Linked DNA regions of Homo sapiens: region 2 is linked to region 1. The links are contacts of gene promoters, found by promoter capture Hi-C in human tissues and cell types (Jung and others, 2019). All regions are on one chromosome and are shown on one strand. Each heading gives the region's core, a stretch centred on a gene start or on the middle of the fragment in contact. The rest is flanking DNA. Distances are from core to core; before and after follow the strand shown.

Region 1 (3,757 bases), core at 1,238-3,737:
CGAGACCGCACCAAGCAAGACTCGAAGAGCTCGCGCCGGACAGCAGGGAGACCGACGGGACTGCAGCCACCGCGGACGCCCGCGCTCCCGTCCCGACTGCTTGCCAGCCCTGCGCCTACGGAGAGCGTCGCGTTTCCCTGGAGACAGCCCCGCCCCATGCCCGCTGCCACTCTCCGGCTCCGCCAATCCCCCCGCCAGGACGCACCCGGCCCCGCCTCCGGGCGTGCCCGCCCTCTGTGACTTCAGGGGCTTGGGGCCGACACCCCGCGGGCCTCGGTGCCAGCCTCCCGCTTACCCGGTCAGCCCCTGGGCCGAGTACCCCTGGGAGAGAAAGCGCTAAATTCCCCCAACACTCCCGTGATGGGGGCACAGGGAGCGCCGTGGGACACCTGAGGAAACTGAGGCCCAAGTGTTAATTAACTTGCCCTGATCACCTAGCACGTGGAGCCACGACTTGCTCAAGCCCTGCCTGATTCCAGCCCCGGCCTTTGTTCATTCAGTAAATGTGGAAGGCGCAAGGGTAACTCGAGGCCTGCGGAGGGAACGAGATGAGGGAGGCCGCAAGAGTCACCGCAGAGAAGAGGGATTGGCTGTCTTGGACCCTCCGAGGGCCTCGGGGAAGGACTGCAGGAGAGCGGATTCTTGATGGGGCTTCACAGGATGCGCAGGAGCTCTCCAGGCTACAGAGCGCATTTCAGGAACTGGACTGGGATGTACAGAGGCACCATGGTGGGAAACAGCTGGGCCTTCCTGCAAAGAGGGGAGAGGCTCTTGGAGGTGCAGGGCTTGCGTTTTCTCAACCCAGACTGCCTCTGAGAACAGGGCAGGGGGTGTGAAGAGCTGATGCCCTGGCCCTCCCCACTGGCTAGCTTTCCGGGGACTAAGGACTAAGGCTGGGCCAGGATTCTGGGGTTCTAGGGGCTCTGCCTCCACACGCCAGTGCCTGTCTGTTGAGTTCACTTCTCTCTAAAATCTCATTTTACACCACGACCCAGTACAAACCACTCAGAAAAATGTTTCATTAAAAGTTCGGCATACTACATGCATGCACTCTAATATTTTCATGTAGTCTATTATTTCTCTAAAAACTAAAATGCTGATCATGACCCACAGAATTGATTTCACAACCCACATTAGTTGTGAATTACAACTTGCTAAGGAGTCAGAACCAACATGTAGAAACCCTCTGTTCTTAGCAAGCACATTCTGGTTACACTGTGGGGGACTAGCACCAAGTCCAGGAGACAGAGGCTGGCCCAGACTAAGTGTGGCAATGAGATGCAGAGACACTTAGGATGAATTGGTTCCCAATCCATTACCTCAATGGAGTGGGAGCATGATGGTTCAAGTAGCAGGCTTTGGAGCAGAAAACCCACCTCAACCATCCTCCAACCGTAAAGGGTGATGATGATTCATGAAACAGTCCAGGAGGAGGAGGGACTTCAGGTTTTGTTTGATTCATTTCAGTGGCCCAACAGTGGCATCAAGGACCTTGGCTCTCCCATCTCCTCTGCTTTCACCCAAGGCTGGCTTCCCCTTATGGCCATGAGAGAACAGAGGAGCCTTCCAAAGTGCTCTCTCCTTCATGGGTTATTAGACACCAAGCTCATTCCCAGAGCAGTCACGGGAGTGTGGCCTTCACTTTTGGCCAGAGACAGAGCCAACTCCTAGAAAGCGGAGGGAGACAGTGTCCCAACCTAATCAATGGCTCCCATGAACGCCAGGGAAAAAAAGGGAATTCCACTCCTCCATCCTAGGAAAGTTGGAGTCCTTCCTTAGGGTGGAGGAAGTGGGAAACAGATGCTGATAAGACCTCCACGGAGGTGATGTCTGGAGCTGCAACCAGGGAAGACCTGGCTGCAGACATATTTGAGTCTTTAGCTCAAGAGTGAACCCCAGGCTGCAATAAAGATCTGACAGTTACCAATGCTAGAAGGCTGATGGACAAAGCAATGACGATAACCCAGAGAGAGACTGTATGCAACTGAAACTTCAATTGCTAAATGTCTGTAGGGCTGTTGAGACAGTTGCTTTTCAGTGTATCCATTGCCTGAAAATTACCAGATGTCAGAAAAATTGAAGGAGTCTTAAATGGCAATTTCATGGACATTAAGTGATATTAAATTTTTTAAAGTTACAATGCTGACCCCAATAAATTACTTAGAAACAGCAAAAGGAATAGTGTGGTCTATGAAGAAGTGATGAAAATAGAAATTAGTTTTATTTTATGAGCCATGTGTTATAATACATAGAAAAAAATGCACCAATTACAAAGCGGGCCACAAAAAGGAATAAACGTAAAGCCGACAACGCAGTCACTAGGGAAAGGGTGAAGACACGGGAACCACGCAGCCCGCCGTCCACGTGCACCGGGTAGCCACGGGGCCCTAGCCGAACGACGCGGACGCGAAGTGGGCGGGCCCGGCCAAGCCACGCCTCCGCGCCAGACGCCGCAGTAGAGCGGGCAGGGCGCTGCGCCCAAGAGCCACAGACGCAAGCCCAGTGCCACAGGCCGCGGGGGCGGGGAGGACGGCGCCCGGGGACAGAGAACATGGGACGCAGAGCGGTCCAAGGCCCCGGCGCCCTGGTGAGGCCCAAACCTCCCGCCATGCCCCGGCCCCAACGAGACCCAAGCCCCCTGTCCCGGCCCAGCGCCCGCGGGGGACCCAAGCCCCAGCCTGGTCCACCTCGGAGGCCTCTAGGACCCGGGGGCGCCCGGCGGCCCGCCCGGCTCCCACAAATAGACTCCTGGGCGGGCGCCTGAGCCCCCAAAATAGATCCTCAGGGCCCAAAAGCAGACTCTTCGGCGGGCGCCATGGGACCGGCAGAAGCTGGGCGCCGCGGGGCCGCCTCGCCCGTACCTCCACCGTTGGTGCGCGTCGCGCCCTCACTCTTCCTCGGGAGCGCGCGAGCCGCGGGCGCGGAGGAGCAGCTGGCGCGCGCGGGAGTCACGCTGTGCGTCAACGTCTCCCGCCAGCAGCCCGGCCCGCGCGCGCCCGGCGTGGCAGAGCTGCGCGTGCCCGTGTTCGACGACCCGGCTGAGGACCTGCTGGCGCACCTGGAGCCCACGTGCGCCGCCATGGAGGCCGCGGTGCGCGCCGGCGGCGCCTGCCTAGTCTACTGCAAGAACGGCCGCAGCCGCTCGGCCGCCGTCTGCACCGCGTACCTCATGCGGCACCGCGGCCTCAGCCTGGCGAAGGCCTTCCAGGTGGGCGGGCCTTTAGGGGGGCGGTGTTTCGAGAGGGGCGTGTCTTCCGGGGACGAGTTTTCCGGGCGGGGCCGGCTTCGGGATTGGGACAGGCACTTCCGGGAGGGGCGGGTCTCTCTCGTGAGGGCGGGCTTAGGGAAGCAGAGAGGCACTTCCGGGTTGGGCGGGGCCCACTCTTACAGCTGGGCCCGCCTTGGCCCCTGCTGGCCATTAGCGCGACTTGGGGTTATTCAGTACACTTCTTGTTTGCAGATGGTGAAGAGCGCTCGCCCGGTAGCAGAACCGAACCCGGGCTTCTGGTCTCAGCTCCAGAAGTATGAGGAGGCCCTCCAGGCCCAGTCCTGCCTGCAGGGAGAGCCCCCAGCCTTAGGGTTGGGCCCTGAGGCTTGAAGCTTGAAGGCCTGCTGCCTGGAGGAAGGATGTCCCTGCACTGATACAGAAGGCTGGTCTTTACCCTTCTTCCTCACTGTCATATCGAGTTTTCCTTTGTGTGTGTGTGTGTGAAACATAGTGCTTTTAATTTTATATTTCCGGCTGAGGTGATGCACA
Region 2 (3,721 bases), core at 588-3,087, 250 kb after region 1:
AAGCAAGAGTCACCAAAAAAGGAGAGGAGAGAAGAAGGAAAGGGAAGGGAAGGGGAGGGGAGGGGAGGGAAGTGGGGAGGGAGAGGGGAGGGAGAGGGCAGGGAGAGGGGAGGGAGAGGGGAGGGAGAGGGGAGGGAGGGAGAGGGGAGGGAGGGCGGAGGGAGAGGGGAGTGGGGAGGGAGGCGGGAGGGAGAGGGGAGGGAAGGGAGAAGAAAGAGAAAGGGAAGAGAGGGATTAGATCCTCAGCGACTTCAGATATTAAAATTGTGAAATACAGATTATAAAAATAAGTTGGCTTAAATGTTCTAAGAAATAAGCAGAACTGAAAAACAATGGGGTAACATATGGGAAAGAACCATGCAGAACTTTTAGAAATAAAATGTAATTATTTAAAACTGAAAACTTAGCAGACATGCTAATCAGCAAATTAAATGGAGCTCAACACAGAATTAATGAACTGGAAAATATGTCAGAAAAAAATTACCCAAAATGATCCCAGAAAGAAAAAAAGGGCGAAAATATAAAACCAAAGTTCAGAGTCAAGTAATATGGAGGAATTCATTAATTTATCATGACAGGGATTTTAACACACTTCTCACTAATTGGTAGATCAAGCAGATATATAATTAATAAGAGCATAGCATGAATAACACAATAATCATAAATTAATGGACATATGTGCCTCTCGCAGAAAATTAGAGCAACATTCTTTTCCATTACATATGGAACATTTACAATATTTTACCATGTACTAGACCATAAAGCAACTCCCAGTAGCTTTCAAAGACCTGTATAAAATGAATCATGTAATTTGAACACAATTAGACTAAAAATTAATTTAAAAATAATTAAAAACCCATATGTTTAGAAATTTAAAAAATAAACTTCTAAATAACAAACCAAAGGAAAAATCATGATGAAAATATAAAAATACTTACTAAATGGAAATGAAAACACTAATAGCAAAACATGGAGTTTTCATGTCCAGCCATGACAGAGTCCCAGGGACCAGGCTTAACCTCTCACTGTAAACAATAACTAGCAAAGAAGACAAAATATACGAAAATACTGGTGTTCAGACATCAGACAATAGGCAGTGCAGGACTGTGATCCCTGAGAGAAGGGGCACATACTAGGTGAGCCCTGTGATCACTCCAAATCTGCCTGGAGGCAGGCACAGCAAGGTAGGACCCAAGCGCCTTGGCAGCTTTGACAGGTTGAGAAGATGGTGGTCAGAGTTTGGGTGGGCAGAGGCAGCTGGAGGTTGTGAGTCAGAGTTCTGGAAGAAAGGAGCTGCTCAGCAGAAGTCCAGAAATTTGCACCGGGGTACACTTGAGTCTTTTCAGAGTACTAGTCCATTCCTGGATAATCCAGACACAAAAAGACTGGGCCGTTGTAATCTGAACAATTCTCAAAACTCACACAAGGTAAGGAGACATCTGTGATCCTATCAGCCAGAACAGGGAGTCCTCTTGAGCCTCCACTCCAGATATTCCGTGGAGACCCTGGAGAAGGCATGCCCTAGGTGGGGGACTAAACTATTCCTGCAGGTGGTCTACTCTAGACCAGCTCTAGAAAAGCTTAAGAACAGGCCTTGACTGATCAAACTGGTCTTCAAGTAAGTTAAGCGCCTGCCAAGACAAAGCCCAACATGCACTAAAGCAAGAAATAGAAGTCAGACTCTCTAAAAACTAAAAATCATGTCTAGCATCCAATCAAAAATTACTAGACCTGCCAAGAACCAGGAAAATGTGATGCATAACTATGAGAAAAATAAGCAATAGAAACATGAATTTTCCTACAATTATTAAAGAAATTGATCCAATAGTTTAAAAATCTACCCACAAAAAAAGGCAGCAGATTCAGACACTTCTTATAGGTGAGTTCCACCATACATTTGTTTAAAAGATAATATCAGTCCTATACAAACTCTTTATGAGAATGGAGGAAAGAGAGGGAAACACCCAAAGAATATAAAGTCGTCCCTCAGTATCAGTAGGAGATTGGTTCCAGGACCCCCCACAGATACCAAAATCCACAGATGCTCAAGTCCCTCATATGAGCTGGTGTACTATTTGCATTTGACCTACACATCCTCATATATATGTGTGTGTGTGTGTGTGTGTGTGTGTGTGTGTGTGTGTGTGTGTGTGTGTGTATATATATATATATATATATACACAGAGAGAGAGAGAGAGTTTCACTCTTGTTGCTCAGGCTGGAGTGCAATGGTGTGATCTCAGCTCACCGCAACCTCTGCCTCCCGGGTTCAAGCGATTCTCCTGCCTCAGCCTCCCTAGTATGCGCCACTAGGCATGCACCACCATGCCCAACTAATTTTGTATTTTTAGTAGATACATGGTTTCTCCATGTTGGTCAGGCTGGTCTTGAACTCCCGACCTCAGATGATCTGCCCGCGCTGGCCTCCCAAAGTGCTGGGATTACAGGCATGAGCCACCGCACCCAGCCCCTTCCATATATTTTAAATCATCTCAAGATTAGTTATAATACCTAATACAATGTGAATGCTATGTATTAATAAATAGTTGCTATACTGTATTGTCCAGGTAATAGTGACAAGGGAAAAACATTTGTACATGTTCAGTATAGACAAACCATTCTTTTTTTCCAAAAATTTTGATCTGGTTGAATTCACAGATGCAGAACCCACAGATATCGAGAGCCAACTGTACTCCTAGCTCATTCACTGATGCTAATAGAATTTTAGCATCAAAGTAAACAAGAAAAAATTGAGAAAGATTATAGACCAGTTTCACTGATGAACATAGGTACAAAAGTCTGAAAAATTAGCAAGAAAATACAGTAACAAATAAAAAGGGCAATGCAGGTAAGCATATTCCAGGAATACCAGTATAGCTTGACATTAGGATAGCTATTATTATAATTTTCAAATTAAAGAAGAAAGAATATGAGGCCCTCAATAGATACTAAAAAAGCATTCCATAATTTTCAAGACTCATTTGTGATAAAATTCTAAGCAATATTAGAATAAAAGAAAACTTTTTTAACCTCATAATAGCTATCTACTAAAAACCTACCCAAACATCACACTTAATGGTAAAATGATAGGAACATTTCCTTTATATTCAGAAACAAGTCCAGGATGCTTGCTATCTCTACTTCTATTTAACATTGTAGGAGAGGTTCTGGCCAAACCAGTAAGACAGGAAAATAACAAACAACATAAATATGAATTTGAAAGAAAGAAACCAAACTGTCATTATCTGCAGACCATTTGCTCATCTACACATAAATCAAGAGAATCCACAGAAAAAATATTTGAATTAGGAAGGTTCAATAAGGTTGTAGAAATCAAGAACATTCTTATATACCTGATAAAGAATTAAAACATATTTTAAGGTATCCTTTAAAATAATAACCCAACCTGGCACAGTGGCTCACACCTGTAGTCCCAGCTACCATGGAGGCTGAGGTAGAAGGATTGCTTGAGCCCAGGAATTCAAGACCAGCCTGAGCAACATAGCAAGACCCATTTCTAAAACAAAAAAAAAAAATTTTTTTTTTTTAATTAGCCAGGAGTAGTGGCAACATCTGTAGTACCAGCTCCTTGGGAGGCTGAGGTAGGAGGATCACTTGAGCTCAGGAGTTCGAGGCTGCGGTGAGCTAATGATCACACCACTGCACTCCAGGCTGGGCAACAGAGCAAGATCTTCTCTCTAAAAAATAAATAAATAAAATA

Evidence for each region. Contacts are between HindIII fragments. The study calls those that stand out against the background at their distance.
Region 2: a fragment that was not itself captured here is called in contact with the fragment with the promoter of DUSP28 in region 1 in 1 of the 25 tissues and cell types used here (dorsolateral prefrontal cortex).

The regions. Positions count from the first base shown.
Region 1 is chr2:240,557,870-240,561,626 of GRCh38, forward strand. DUSP28 (dual specificity phosphatase 28) reads left to right here and starts at 2,488. Exons shown (of 2, transcript NM_001370465.2): 1 at 2,488-3,208; 2 at 3,461-3,757. The coding sequence starts at 2,816. The coding sequence ends at 3,598. ANKMY1 (ankyrin repeat and MYND domain containing 1) reads right to left here and starts at 119. Exons shown (of 18, transcript NM_001282771.3): 1 at 12-119. RefSeq lists silencers at 59-278, 2,337-2,746, 2,927-2,976 and enhancers at 3,073-3,214, 3,247-3,316, 3,347-3,706. The HindIII fragment of the contact is 5,674 bases long and covers 317-3,757 here.
Region 2 is chr2:240,804,974-240,808,694 of GRCh38, forward strand. The region is part of intron 1 of KIF1A (kinesin family member 1A); the gene reads right to left. Among named protein-coding and RNA genes, the nearest start is that of KIF1A, 13 kb to the right of the region's middle. The HindIII fragment of the contact is 7,215 bases long and covers 1-3,721 here.